3 separate regions of the Homo sapiens genome follow, and all the other regions are linked to region 1. The links are contacts of gene promoters, found by promoter capture Hi-C in human tissues and cell types (Jung and others, 2019). All regions are on one chromosome and are shown on one strand. The core of a region is centred on a gene start or on the middle of the fragment in contact, and the rest is flanking DNA. Distances in the headings are between cores, read along the strand shown.

Region 1 (4,000 bases), core at 578-3,077:
CTAAGAGTCTCGGAGGGAGGACGGCAGAGGAAGGGAAGGAACCCGGAGCATCCTTTTGGAATCCTGGCTCGCCTGTGTCCCCCAGAACACGCCACCTTTGGCCTCCAGGCCGGCTTCTACCCAGCCAGCTCCCCCTCCCTTTCCCCAGGCCGCGTCAGCTCCGGTCCATCTGTTTCTCAGGAATCACCTGCGGGCCCTCTAAGCCAGGCCCTCGTCTCCCTTCATTTCCTCTGGGCCCTTTACCCTTCACCCCTTTCCCTCTACCCCGTAGCTTCTGCCTCTTAGGTTCCCAAGGAAGGGAAGTTGTCTGAGGAGCAGGGATGCACTTGGCTCTGCTGGGCACTGACCCTGGCACTCTCTATGCCCGGTGCCCTGTGGTCTGGCTCTTGCTGAGGATGCAGAAGGGAGCCCTACCCGAGGCAGCCCGGAATGCCCCACCCTCGAAGGGGAAAAAGGCAAGCATGAGGCCAGCGTGCCTCTAAAACTACACACCAGGGCTCCTGGAGGGCAGGGCCCATAATCAAAAGAATAATAAACAACCATCTGAATGGGCCAAGGCTGTAGGGTGGAGAAGCAGCTCTACAGCGGGACCTAAGCTGCCAACCCACGCCCTGATAAGGTCTGCGGTGGGAATTAAACCTTTTCCTCCCTCGGTGCCGCTTAGGCTGTGTGATGATCATGTGGTCCCAACAGCTTCTCAGAGAAGTGTGAAGCACACCTGAGTTGGCACAGAAGTGAGCTAGGCCAGGGATTGCAAGATGCGGTGGCCTGCCCGTAGCAGAGAGCTGTGGGGCCCTGATCCGCGGTACCCCGCATGGGGACGCTGTCACAGAGCAAGGCAGGAGGAAAATGTGGTGGTCAGTGACCCGGGGAATAGGAAGGGAGCAGCTAGGGTTGAGATGCCAGGCCCTGGCCAGCAGGTTTGGAGTAAGGGGTGTAGAGAAACAGGAAGTGTTACTCAGCCTGGGTTCCCCTGTTCCTCCCGATGGCTGCACCCCTCCCCTCTCCCCGGCTGCAGCAGTCCCAGCTAGGCCGGACTGCTAAGCCTGGCCCAGAGCACGGCTGACAATTCACGGCAGCCTCCCTGGCCCAGCCTCCTGCAAGAGAAGGAGGACCCCAGAGGAAGCCCGGTAGCCAGAGGGGAAGGGCTGGAGCACAGCCAGGTAGGAGGCAACACGGCCCGGCCTTCAGCAGCCGCTCTCCTGGCAGGAGCCCTCTAGGGTAAAACAAGGGAGGACAAGGAAATAGCAGCCAGGCTGATGGCAGGCCAAGAGGAGGCCACATCTCCCATCCCCAGGTTAATGCTGCTCTGCCAAGAAAACTTGGAGCCACCCTTGGCGGGCCCCCAGCCCAACCCTGGGCAGCAGAGCCCGCCCATCACAGGCATGGCGCTGCTCCCCATTAACACACCCTCTGCCCCCCTTCCTGTTCCTGCTCGTGAGGGCCTGACAGCGGGGCTGAGTCACCCATACCAGCTACAGGTCTCTTCCTTCCCCAACAATCGTTCCACACGCCTGCCTTTCAATTAACTCCCACCCGCCCCGAACTCTTCCTACCCAGACACTGTGGGCAGGGAGCCAGGCGCACCTGCTGGGGGCCCAGGGTGGTGGGGCTGTGATCAGAAAGGAAGCCGCGTGGTGACACATAAAGCAGGGCTGCCCCCACACGAGTCCCCAGAGGAATCTTAAGCTCCCCATTGCCCTGGGGTGTTGGTCCCAGCTGCCCCATCCCTGCACGCGGATGCTGCAATTACCCAAGAGCACGAAACCTGGCTTCCCACCTGACTGAGTCAGCTGAGAACAAAAACACATCTCCACCGCCACAAACAGCCAGGCCACTCATCAGAGTCCGGGAGCCACTGGCAGAGAGGGCACGGCCCCACACTGCCCCAGAGACATATAGGAGCCAGGCAAACACCAGGGCGAGTGAGCTCGGGCCATCTGCTGCCTGCCTGTGGAAGGAGCGCTCGCCAGCCTCACCCAGCCCGAGAAGGTCCACCTCTGCCTCCGCCGGAGCTGCCCTCATTCTGGCTCCAGTAAGTGCTGCTTCTTCCTCCTGGGTTTTTTTCCACTACCCTATTCAGTAACCAGGCCACTCCTGTCCCTGTGGGAAACTCTTGCTGCCAGGAACTCCCAGCTGTCTGCTCTCCTGGGCAAAAAAGTTCCTTCTTCCTGAGCCCTCCTCTCACCATCCAAGATGTGGTCAAAGGTCTGTGCTGAGTGGAAACCCTGAGGCCTCTGCTCCTAGGGGAGCCTCCCCAGCTGCTGGCACTCACTGCCCCAGCAGGGACCACATGCACCCTGGCTGCTCCTGAACACCTGTCTGCTGGCTCCCCTGGGCCCCATGGAGACCTGGCGGAAAGGCTCCTTCCGCAACGCCTCCTTCTTCAAGCAGCTGAGCCTGGGGCGGCCACGGCGGCTCCGGCGACAGAGTAGTGTGCTTAGCCAGGCCAGCACAGCAGGTGGGGACCACGAGGAGTACAGCAACCGAGAAGTCATCCGGGAGCTACAAGGGAGGCCAGATGGCCGGCGCCTGCCACTGTGGGGGGACGAGCAGCCCCGGGCCACCCTGCTGGCCCCACCCAAGCCCCCACGCCTCTACCGAGAGAGCTCAAGCTGCCCCAACATCCTGGAGCCCCCACCTGCCTACACAGCAGCCTACTCTGCCACCCTGCCATCGGCGCTCTCTCTGTCGAGTGCCCTCCACCAGCACTCAGAGAAGGGCCTTGTGGACACTCCCTGCTTCCAGAGGACACCTACCCCAGACCTCAGTGATCCCTTCCTCTCCTTCAAAGTGGACCTGGGGATTTCACTTCTTGAGGAAGTTCTGCAGATGCTAAGGGAGCAGTTTCCTAGCGAGCCCAGCTTCTAAATGGGGTGAGGGTGGGCAAAGCCGGGGTGACTGGAAGATCCAGAGGCTGGGGATTAAGGAAAGGACAGGGACAGGACTCCAGGCCCATCGCTGGAGGGTTCAGGCAGGCAGAGCTTCTTCATCCTGGGGGAGGATTCCAGGATAGGAATCCAGGGCTCTGCCTGCTCTCTGGGTCCTGGACAGTCCTTCCAGGCACCCCAGAGTGGAGGGACAGAGGCAATCTGGAAATGTTGGGGGGGCGGCCCTTCCTGGCAGGACCCTGAAGAAAGCTGGCTATGCCGGGAAAGGGAGGCTGTGCCGGGAAAGGGAGGCTCTGTGCGGCACTACAGGAACCAGGTAGAGGCTGGCAGAGCCAGAAGGTGGCACGGGGTCAGATCAGGGAGTGGGAGGACACAGACTGAGCAGAAGAGATGAGTGCCCCATGCCAGCCTCTTTGGAAGCCACTGTCAACAGAGAGAGGTCACAGGACAAGCTTGGGTAAAGGCAGTCCAACCCAGGCAGAAGAGGAAAGTGGGAAGGCCCAGGAAGAAAGGGGAGAAGGCCTGACCCTGTCTAATCTGGTGGCCACTCACTGCATGACACTGAATTGAAATAAATAAAATTAACAGTTCAGTTCCTCAGCTGCACCGTTATTCCAGATTCCACATTCCAAATGCCCGGTGGCCACACATGATTAATGGCTACCACACTGGTCAGTGCAGAATGGACGTAAACATCGCTGCACAAAGTTCTAATGGACAGCGCTGTCTAGACCATGGCCTGGAGCCACCAGCAAAGGGGAGGCGCATACAGGGGCTGGCCACATAGGAAGAGATAGGTAGAGATAGAGTATAACTCAGGAAAAAGACCAGGCAAATCCTTAGCAGAAATGAGGACGTGGCTCAGTCTGCCAACACAGCTACCCGGAGCAATCCCTGGTGAAGGAAGGCAGCTCTAGAGAATGCCAGCCACAGGCACGCGCACGGCTTGCAAAGGGGTACTTTGGGGAATTCCCAGAATTACTAGTGATGGGAGCCCTGGCAGGTTTCCTTCCTCGAAGAGAGGAGAACTGGATCCAGGGATGGGCATTCAACAGCGAAGCGGCACAGCTGGTTTCCAGAACCGTCTCCCGGGATTAGACAGTTCTGCC
Region 2 (4,000 bases), core at 791-3,290, 450 kb before region 1:
GGGTGGTCAATGACAGAGGCAAGCTAACATCAATTCCACATCATTCTATCTACTTGATTATGCAGTCTCCCCTGTGGCAGGTGCTCTCTGATGAGTATTAACATGCAATATAAAGATCTTCAATAGTGAGACCTATCTCTACAAAAAAAAATTAGCCTCGTGTGGTGGTGTGTGCCTGTAGTACCAGCTACTCCAGGGTCTGAGGTAGGAGATCACTTGAGCCCCGGAGGTCGAGGCTGCAGTGAGCCATGATCGTACCACTGCACTCCAGCCTGGGCAACAGAGCAAGACCCTGTCTCAAAAAATAAAAAATAAAGATACTCACACTTGGTGCTCACTCAAATAGATAAAGCCACATATCTCTTCCCAAGACCTTCTTGTTCCCAGTCTTCCAGTATTTCTCTTTCTAGCCCTCTAACCAACCAGTCAAACCATTTGCCTATAGCTCATGAGCCTGTAGACAATTTTACCTCAGGCCGCTTTACCAGGGGCCATGCTGATGATTCAGTTCCCAGTCAGGTATCAATGTCAATGCAGACACTGCATCCAGCAGACCTTAAAGCGTTTGACTATTCTACTATCCCCAGTGTACAGTTACCCAGGTAAACGGCATAGTTCCCTTTAGGGAAGTAGTGGGGAAATCATTACTGTATTGCTATAGTATTGCAGAAACCTTTCCCCTGGGAACCTGAACTGAAAATTGAATTGGGACTGGAAACCAAACAAGATATTGTGACTTTTTATTGGAGCAGCTGCCATCAACCTCCTGGTCTTTCATCCTTGATTTATTTTAATTGTACAGCTCAGCAATTCTCAGTGTGTGGTCTCCAGACCCCTTGGGGTCCCTGAGATCACTTCAGGGGTTTCACAAGGTCAAAATTGCTTTCATAATAATACTAACATGTTATTTACCTTTTTAACTGTGTTGTCGTTTGCACTGATGGTGCTAAAGCAATGGTGGGTAAAACTTCTGGCACCTTAAACAACCAAGGCAGTGACACCAAACTGAACTAGTAGTTCATTGCAGAAAGAAAGAGGAAAGAAAAGAAAAAAAAAAGGAAGGGAGAAAAGTCGTTTTACTTTAGAATATCTTTAACAAAACGATATCAATTGTTAAATTGTATGAAGTTATGACCCTTAAATAGATGTCTTTTTAATATTCCATGTGATTAAATGAAAGTACTCTACTGCATATGGAAGTATAACGGTTCTCTTGGGGAAAAGTACTTTTGCGATTGGGTCGTGAGCTCAATTAGCTGCTCTTTTCATGGAACACCAGTTTTACTTGAAAGAAGAACTGAAAAACCATGGCTATGCAGACTTGGCTATTTGGCAGATGTTTTCTCACATTTGAACCAAGTGAGCCTGTCACTTTGAGAAAAAAATAACTGATAGTGTTTGTTACCAATTACAAAATTTGAGTTTTCAAGTAAAAACTAGAATTTTAGAAAACATGTATGCACTATCATGAGCTTCCTAGATTCCTGATACTTAAACTTTTTATAATATTATCAAATGTGATTTTTTCTATTATATAATGAAATGTATCAATATTGCAAAGATATGTTTAATTCAGTGAACCAATATTTTCCAAATGATCAACGTGGGATATTATAAAATCATGCATGGGTAAAAGTGCCATTCAAAGGGCAAGTTAGATCAATGGACTTTAATGTAATTGAGCACAAAAAAAGTTCACTGATATAGTTTTATAGTCTACATTTCAACCACCATTTAAGAAAATACTGCTTGTTGGGTTTTGGTGTAGCATCAAAGAAAAACAGCCACAATTATCTGAAAAGGCTGTTAAAATGTTCCTCTCTTTTCCAACTACATGTCTATATGAGGCTGGATTTTCCTCATATATTTTAACCATAACAACAAATTGCCAGCAGATTAAATGTAGATGCAGATATGAGATGCCAGGCATGTTGGCTCATGCCTGTAATCCCAGCATTTTGGGAGGCCAAGGCAGGTGGATCACTTGAGCTCAGGAGTTTGAGACCAGTCTGGCAAAATGGCAAAACCCTGTCTCTACAAAAAAATACAAAAATTAGCCAGGCATGGTGGTGTGCATCCGAAGTCCCAAGCTACTTGGGAGGCAGAGGTGGGAGAATTGCTTGAACCTGGGAAGTGGAGGTTGCAGTGAACTGAGATCACGCCACTTACACTCCAGCCTTGTGACAAAGTGAGATCCTGTCTAAAAAAAAAAAAAAAAAAAAAAAAAAGTGGATATGAGGATCCAGTTGTCTTCTACATTCCAGAGATTTGCAAATTTACAAAGCAAAGCCACTCTTTTCATTATTTTTTGTCATAAAAATATATTATCTGCCCAGGTGCAGTGGCTCACGCCTGTAATCTCAGCACTTTGGGAGGCCGAGGCGGGTGGATCACAAGGTCAGGAGTTCGAGACCAGCCTGGCCAACATGGTGAAACCCTGTCTCTACTAAAAATACAAAAATTAGCCGAGTGTGGTGGCATGCACCTGTAATCCCAGCTACTCGGGAAGCTGAGGCAGGAGAACTGCTTGAACCTGGGAGGCGGAGGTTGCAGTGAGCCGAGATCATGCCACTGCACTCCAGCCTGGGCAACAGAGTGAGACTCTGTCTTGGAAAATAAATAAATAAATAAATAAATAAAATATATATTATCTATGTTAACATGTAGTGGGGCTTATTATTCTTTAGACAAATTAATAAATATTTTGCAAAACCCTTGGTCTTATTTCTAATATGTCAAATAAAAATAGCTATAACCCACATAAACAAAATCCCTTTAGATACCTCTCTCTCTCATATATACATACATATATATATATTTAGAGACTAGGTCTCACTCTGTCACCCAGACTAGAGTGCAGTAGCATGATCATGGCTTAGTGCCGTCTCAAACTCCGGAGGTCAAGCGAGCCTCCTGCCTCAGCCTCTCGAGTAATTGGGACTACAGGCATGTGCCACCCTGCCTAGCTAATTTTCAACTTTTTTTTTTGTAGAGATGAGGTCTCACTATTTTGCCCGGGCTGATCTTGAACTCCTGGGGTCAAGTGATCCTTCTGCTTCAGCCTTCCAAGTAGTTGGGATTATAGGTGCGAGCCACCACATCAGGCTTAGAGACCTCAATATTTAAGAGTGTAAAGGGATCCTGAAACTAAAACATTTGAGAATCACTGGTATAGATAGAGCAGTACTGTTACTGGCTGCCTAGCTAGCTTGCTCCAGGGATGCTATGCTATCAACCATCTTCAACCATGGTCCTCTACTGGCCAGGACTGCCCCCACTGCCACTCCAACTTGCTGCTTATTACAACAGTTGTGCTGTCTAGCTTCTATGATTTCATGGTCCTATCATCCCCACTGCTATCTGGAGCCAGTTCTGGAATGGCCTCTTGCTGTCAGGCATGGCTTACAGAGGACAGTCCAAACTCAGCTTCTCAGGGATGCTGGTACCGCTCTCACCAGTGTGTTCCTTGTTGCTTTGGTAACTAGAGTATCCTCTGGGCCTTCCTGCAGAACTTAAGTGGTTTCTGGCCTTACATAGAATATACCCATTTCTGTGAGCTTTTGAACCCTTCTTCCACATTCTGCTGTGGTAGTTCTGGCATTTCCATTACACTCTGGTGGCCATTGCCTTCCTCCTGTCTCCCAGGATCCTTGTCAGGATATCACATCCTGATTCACAGGAGAATACTCCTATAACAACGAAGTATCCCTTGTTCAACTTAATGTGTGGCACCACACCCCACCTTGATCTAGCCTATACATTCGCTCCTGGATCCTGCCAGTATATACTGGCTACTTCCGCAACTACTTCATGGTCTAGCCTTCTTCCCTAGTGGGCCCCTGCACATCTCTGACTGGGCTTTATTGTGATCTGGCTCTATGTATTGGGCTTGTAGGCCAGGACAGAGAGGCAGCTTCCTTTGGTGTCAGAAGGCAAGTCCCAGTGACAGTTGCAGCTGAGCCATCATAGCCAACACTCCTGACAATTGGAAGAATGAGCA
Region 3 (4,000 bases), core at 579-3,078, 330 kb after region 1:
TATTAATAAATTAAAATTAAAGCACCATACTACTTCATACCCACTAGAATAATAAAAAAGACAGGCTAGACACAGTGGCTCTCACCTATAATCTCAACATTTAGGAGGCTGAAGTGGGTGGATCCCTTGAGCCCAGGAGTTTGAGACCAGCCTGGGCAACATAGCAGGACCGTGTCCCTACAAAAAATTTAAAAATTAGCCAAGTATGGTGATGCGTGCCTGTAGTGCCAGCTACTCAAGAGGCTGAGGTGAGAGGATTGCTTAAGCCCAGGAAGTCAAGGCTGCAGTGAGCTATCATTGTGCCACTGTGCTCCAGCCTGGAGTAAGACCCTGTCTCAAAAAAAAAAAAAAAAAAAAAAAAAAAAAACAAACACACACACACACACACAACAAGAGAGTGAGAGAGAGGGAAAGAAAAAGGGAAAAAAAAAATGTTCCAAACTCCCATTGTGGCGATAGTTCCACAATTCTGTAAATCTACCAAAAATATATTCAAAATATACTGAACTGTATATTTTATTTAAATTATGTGAATTTCATAGTTTGTAAATTGTCAGTCTTGGTAATATAAAGAAAAAAGAATGCTAAAAAATACTTTTGGCCAGGAGCAGTGGCTGAAGCTTGTAATCCCAGCACTTTGGGAGGTGAGGCAGGAGGAGAGCTTGAGCCCAAGAGTTCAAGACCAGCCTGAGTAACATGGCGAGACCTTGTCTCTACAAAAAAATTTAAAAATTAGCTGAGTGTAGTGGCATGCACCTGTAAACCCAGCCACTTGGGAGGCTGAGGAGGGAGGATGGTTTGAGCCCAGGAGGTTGAGACCTCAGTAAGTCATGAACGCACCACTGTACTCCAGCCTGCATAACAGAGTGAGACTATCCAAAAAAAAAAAAACTTTAAATTTCACCTTTTCAAAATGAGACCTAACGTGTACCCACCCACTCCAGAAGATTTCAAAGAAATTGGTTTTTAAAATACAACAAAACTCCCTTAAGAGAACAGCAAATAATTCATCTTGATACATGTATAAATGTAAAACTACTCTGCTTGGCTCCATCCCAAGCTTTTATTACAGAACAATTAATCCATGCTCTAGTTATTTTACCTGATAAGGAAAATGACACTAATTAAGGAGGTATGACTACCAAGTAATACGGAGTGATTCGAAATGAATGGAATATTTTCTTTTCTTTTTTTTTTGAGACAAAGTCTTGTAGCCGAGGCTGGAATGCTGTGGCCCAATCTCGGCTCACTGCAAGCTCTGCCTCCCAGGTTCACGCCATTCTCCTGCCTCAGCCTCCCGAGTAGCTGGGACTACAGGCGCCTGCCACCACGCCAGGCTAACTTTTTGTATTTTTAGTACAGACGGGGTTTCACTGTGTTAGCCAGGATGGTCTCGATCTCCTGACCTCGTGATTCGCCCGCCTCGGCCTCCCAAAGTGCTGGGATTACAGGTGTGAGCCACTGTGCCCGGCCAATGAATGGAATATTTTCAAAACTTATTCCTCAGTACCTATGTGAGTATGAAATCAAAAACAATTTGTTGAAGAAAGATCACAGTTAACTTCTAGTCTTACAATCCTCAATATATGCTCCCTTTTGACACCCAGTATACATCAGTCCTGTCAACTGATTCATCCCAGAAATCATCTTTGCAGCATATCACCACTGATGGCTGAAATGACAGCTGCAATGAATTCCCTTATGTCCACAATACCACCAAAAAAAGGTGCTGTAAGCACAAAATTCTCCACAAGAAGTCCTATGATGACATCTGGAGAACCAAGTTATATTTTTTAAGTGTTCAATTTTTTTCTTTATGGTGGCAAAAGACATAAAACTTACCATTTTAACCATTTTTAAGTGTACACTTCAGTGGCATTATATACATTCACATTGTTGTGCAACCATTACTACCATTCACAATTTTTTCTTTTTTTTTTTTTTTTGAGACAGAGGCTCCCTCTGTCGCCCAGGCTGGAGCACAATGGGGTGATCTCCGCTCACTACAATCTCCGCCTCCTGGGTTCAAGTGATTCTCTCACCTCCAGCCTCCCAAGTAGCTGGGACTACAGGCGCACCCCACCACACACAGCTAATTTTTGTATTTTTAGTAGAGATGGAGTTTTACCATGTTGGCCAGGCTGGTCTCAAACGCCTGGCATCAAGTGATCCACCCACCTCAGCCTCCCAAAGTAGTGGGATTATAGGCATGAGCCACCCACCCGGCTGACAATCATTTCTTAATCACCTTTTAAGATTGCTGGCCTCTCAATTCAGCCTAGTCTTGATTAGCATGTTAAAAGCTGCTGCTGCAATAACCACTTTCATCTCCTCATTTGTCTCTTATTCCCTACAAGGAAACTGCATGGCCATCAACCTGACCCATCTGTTATCGTCCAACTTCAGCAAAACACTTGATAATTCTCAATAACCCTTTTACCCACCTTCTACCAATTGTTTCTCATTCTCTACCAAGATTACTTCAAATCTTTTTTCCCTCTTCCTCAAAATGCTGAAGTCATTCCCCGCTCATCTTGGAAGAGCCTGAAGAGCAAATCATTCCATCCTCTTTTATTTCACCTTAGCTCAATAGTTTCCTCTTACTTGCTGTGATATTTGAGTCACCAACACAAACAGACTTTATTTGTAACTTTTTTTTTTTTTTTTGAGACAGAGTCTTGCTCTGTCACCCAGGCTGGAGTGCAGTGGCGAGATCTCTGCTCACTGCAAGCTCCGCCTCCCAGGTTCAAGCCATTCTCCTGCCTCAGCCTCCCGAGTAGCTGGGACTGCAGGCGCCCGCCACAACGCCTGGCTAAGTTTTTTTGTATTTTAGTAGAGACGGGGTTTCACTGTGTTAGCCAGGATGATCTCGATCTCCTGACCTCGTGATCCACCCACCTCGGCCTCCCAAAGTGCTGGGATTACAGGCGTGAGCCACCGCACCCGGCCTATTTGTAACTCTTAGTCAAGGTGATTCTCCATACTAGTACAAAAGATATGACTATTTCTTGGCGGGCATGGTGGCTCATGCCTGTAATCCCAGCACTTTGGGAGGCTGAGACGAGCAGATTACAAGGTCAGGAATTCGAGACCAACCTGGCTAACACAGTGAAATCCCGCCTTTACTAAAAATACAAAAAAGTAGCTGGGCTTGGTGGCACGCACCTGTAGTCCCAGCTACTCAGGAGGCTGAGGCAGGAGAATCGCTTGAACCTGGGAGGTGGAGGTTGCAGTGAGCCAAGACTGTGCCACTGAACTCCAGCCTGGGCAACAAAGCAAGACTCCATCTCAAAAAAAGAAGATACGACTATGTCTTATGTCACTTATTATGGGTTCATGCCCATGCATTTGCATTTTAAAGTACATACTGTGTAAGTTACTTTATTTATGTTTCCCCAATATATTACAATTAGGGCATCATACTGCTTTTTAAAATTATATATTACCTATAGATTTCATTTCAGGATTTTAAAAAGGGCATATTAGGCCAGGCGCAGTGGCTCATGCCTGTAATCCTAGCACTTTGGGAGGCCGAGGCGGGCAATCACCTGAGATCAGGAGTTCGAGACCAGCCTGACCAATATGGTGAAACCCCATCTCTACTAAAAAATACAAAAATTAGCCAGGTGTGGTGGCGGGTTTGCCTGTAGTCCCAGCAACTTGGGAGCCTGAGGCAGGAGAATCGCTTGAACCTGGGAGGCGGAGGTTACAGTGAGCCAGTATCGTGCACACTGCACTACACCCTGGGCAACAGAGCAAGACTGTCTCAAAGGAAAAAAAAAGGGTGTATTATAAAATATTTGTAATAAAAAAGGAGAGTTGGGTCTGATACAGTTGAGAACCATGCTCTCTGATAACCACTGTTTATCAGAATGAATGAAGTTGATATTGTTGAGTGACTCTTGCTTTTGGATACTCTATTTAATAATCTTTGAAAACTTGGACTATTCCTTAACTCCTTGACTGAAACTTTATTCTAAATGCGGAGTACACCAAAGTT

What was found. The method cuts DNA at HindIII sites, captures the fragments that hold promoters and counts their contacts. A contact is called where the count stands out against the background at its distance.
Region 2: a contact is called between a fragment that was not itself captured here and the fragment with the promoter of C15orf62 in region 1, in 1 of the 25 tissues and cell types used here (aorta).
Region 3: a fragment that was not itself captured here is called in contact with the fragment with the promoter of C15orf62 in region 1 in 1 of the 25 tissues and cell types used here (IMR-90 fibroblasts).

What each region holds. Positions count from the first base shown.
Region 1 is chr15:40,768,153-40,772,152 of GRCh38, forward strand. It overlaps C15orf62 (chromosome 15 open reading frame 62), which reads left to right and starts at 1,828. Exons shown (of 1, transcript NM_001130448.3): 1 at 1,828-4,000. The coding sequence starts at 2,344. The coding sequence ends at 2,871. The region is part of intron 10 of DNAJC17 (DnaJ heat shock protein family (Hsp40) member C17); the gene reads right to left. RefSeq lists enhancers at 489-1,107, 1,726-2,344, 2,298-2,387, 2,345-2,961. The HindIII fragment of the contact is 9,899 bases long and covers 1-4,000 here.
Region 2 is chr15:40,316,484-40,320,483 of GRCh38, forward strand. LOC112268152 (a long non-coding RNA gene) reads right to left here. Exons shown (of 3, transcript XR_002957721.2): 2 at 913-1,010. Among named protein-coding and RNA genes, the nearest start is that of INAFM2, 5.2 kb to the right of the region's middle. The HindIII fragment of the contact is 9,874 bases long and covers 1-4,000 here.
Region 3 is chr15:41,098,901-41,102,900 of GRCh38, forward strand. The region is part of intron 1 of INO80 (INO80 complex ATPase subunit); the gene reads right to left. Among named protein-coding and RNA genes, the nearest start is that of INO80, 15 kb to the right of the region's middle. The HindIII fragment of the contact is 3,775 bases long and covers 1-3,716 here.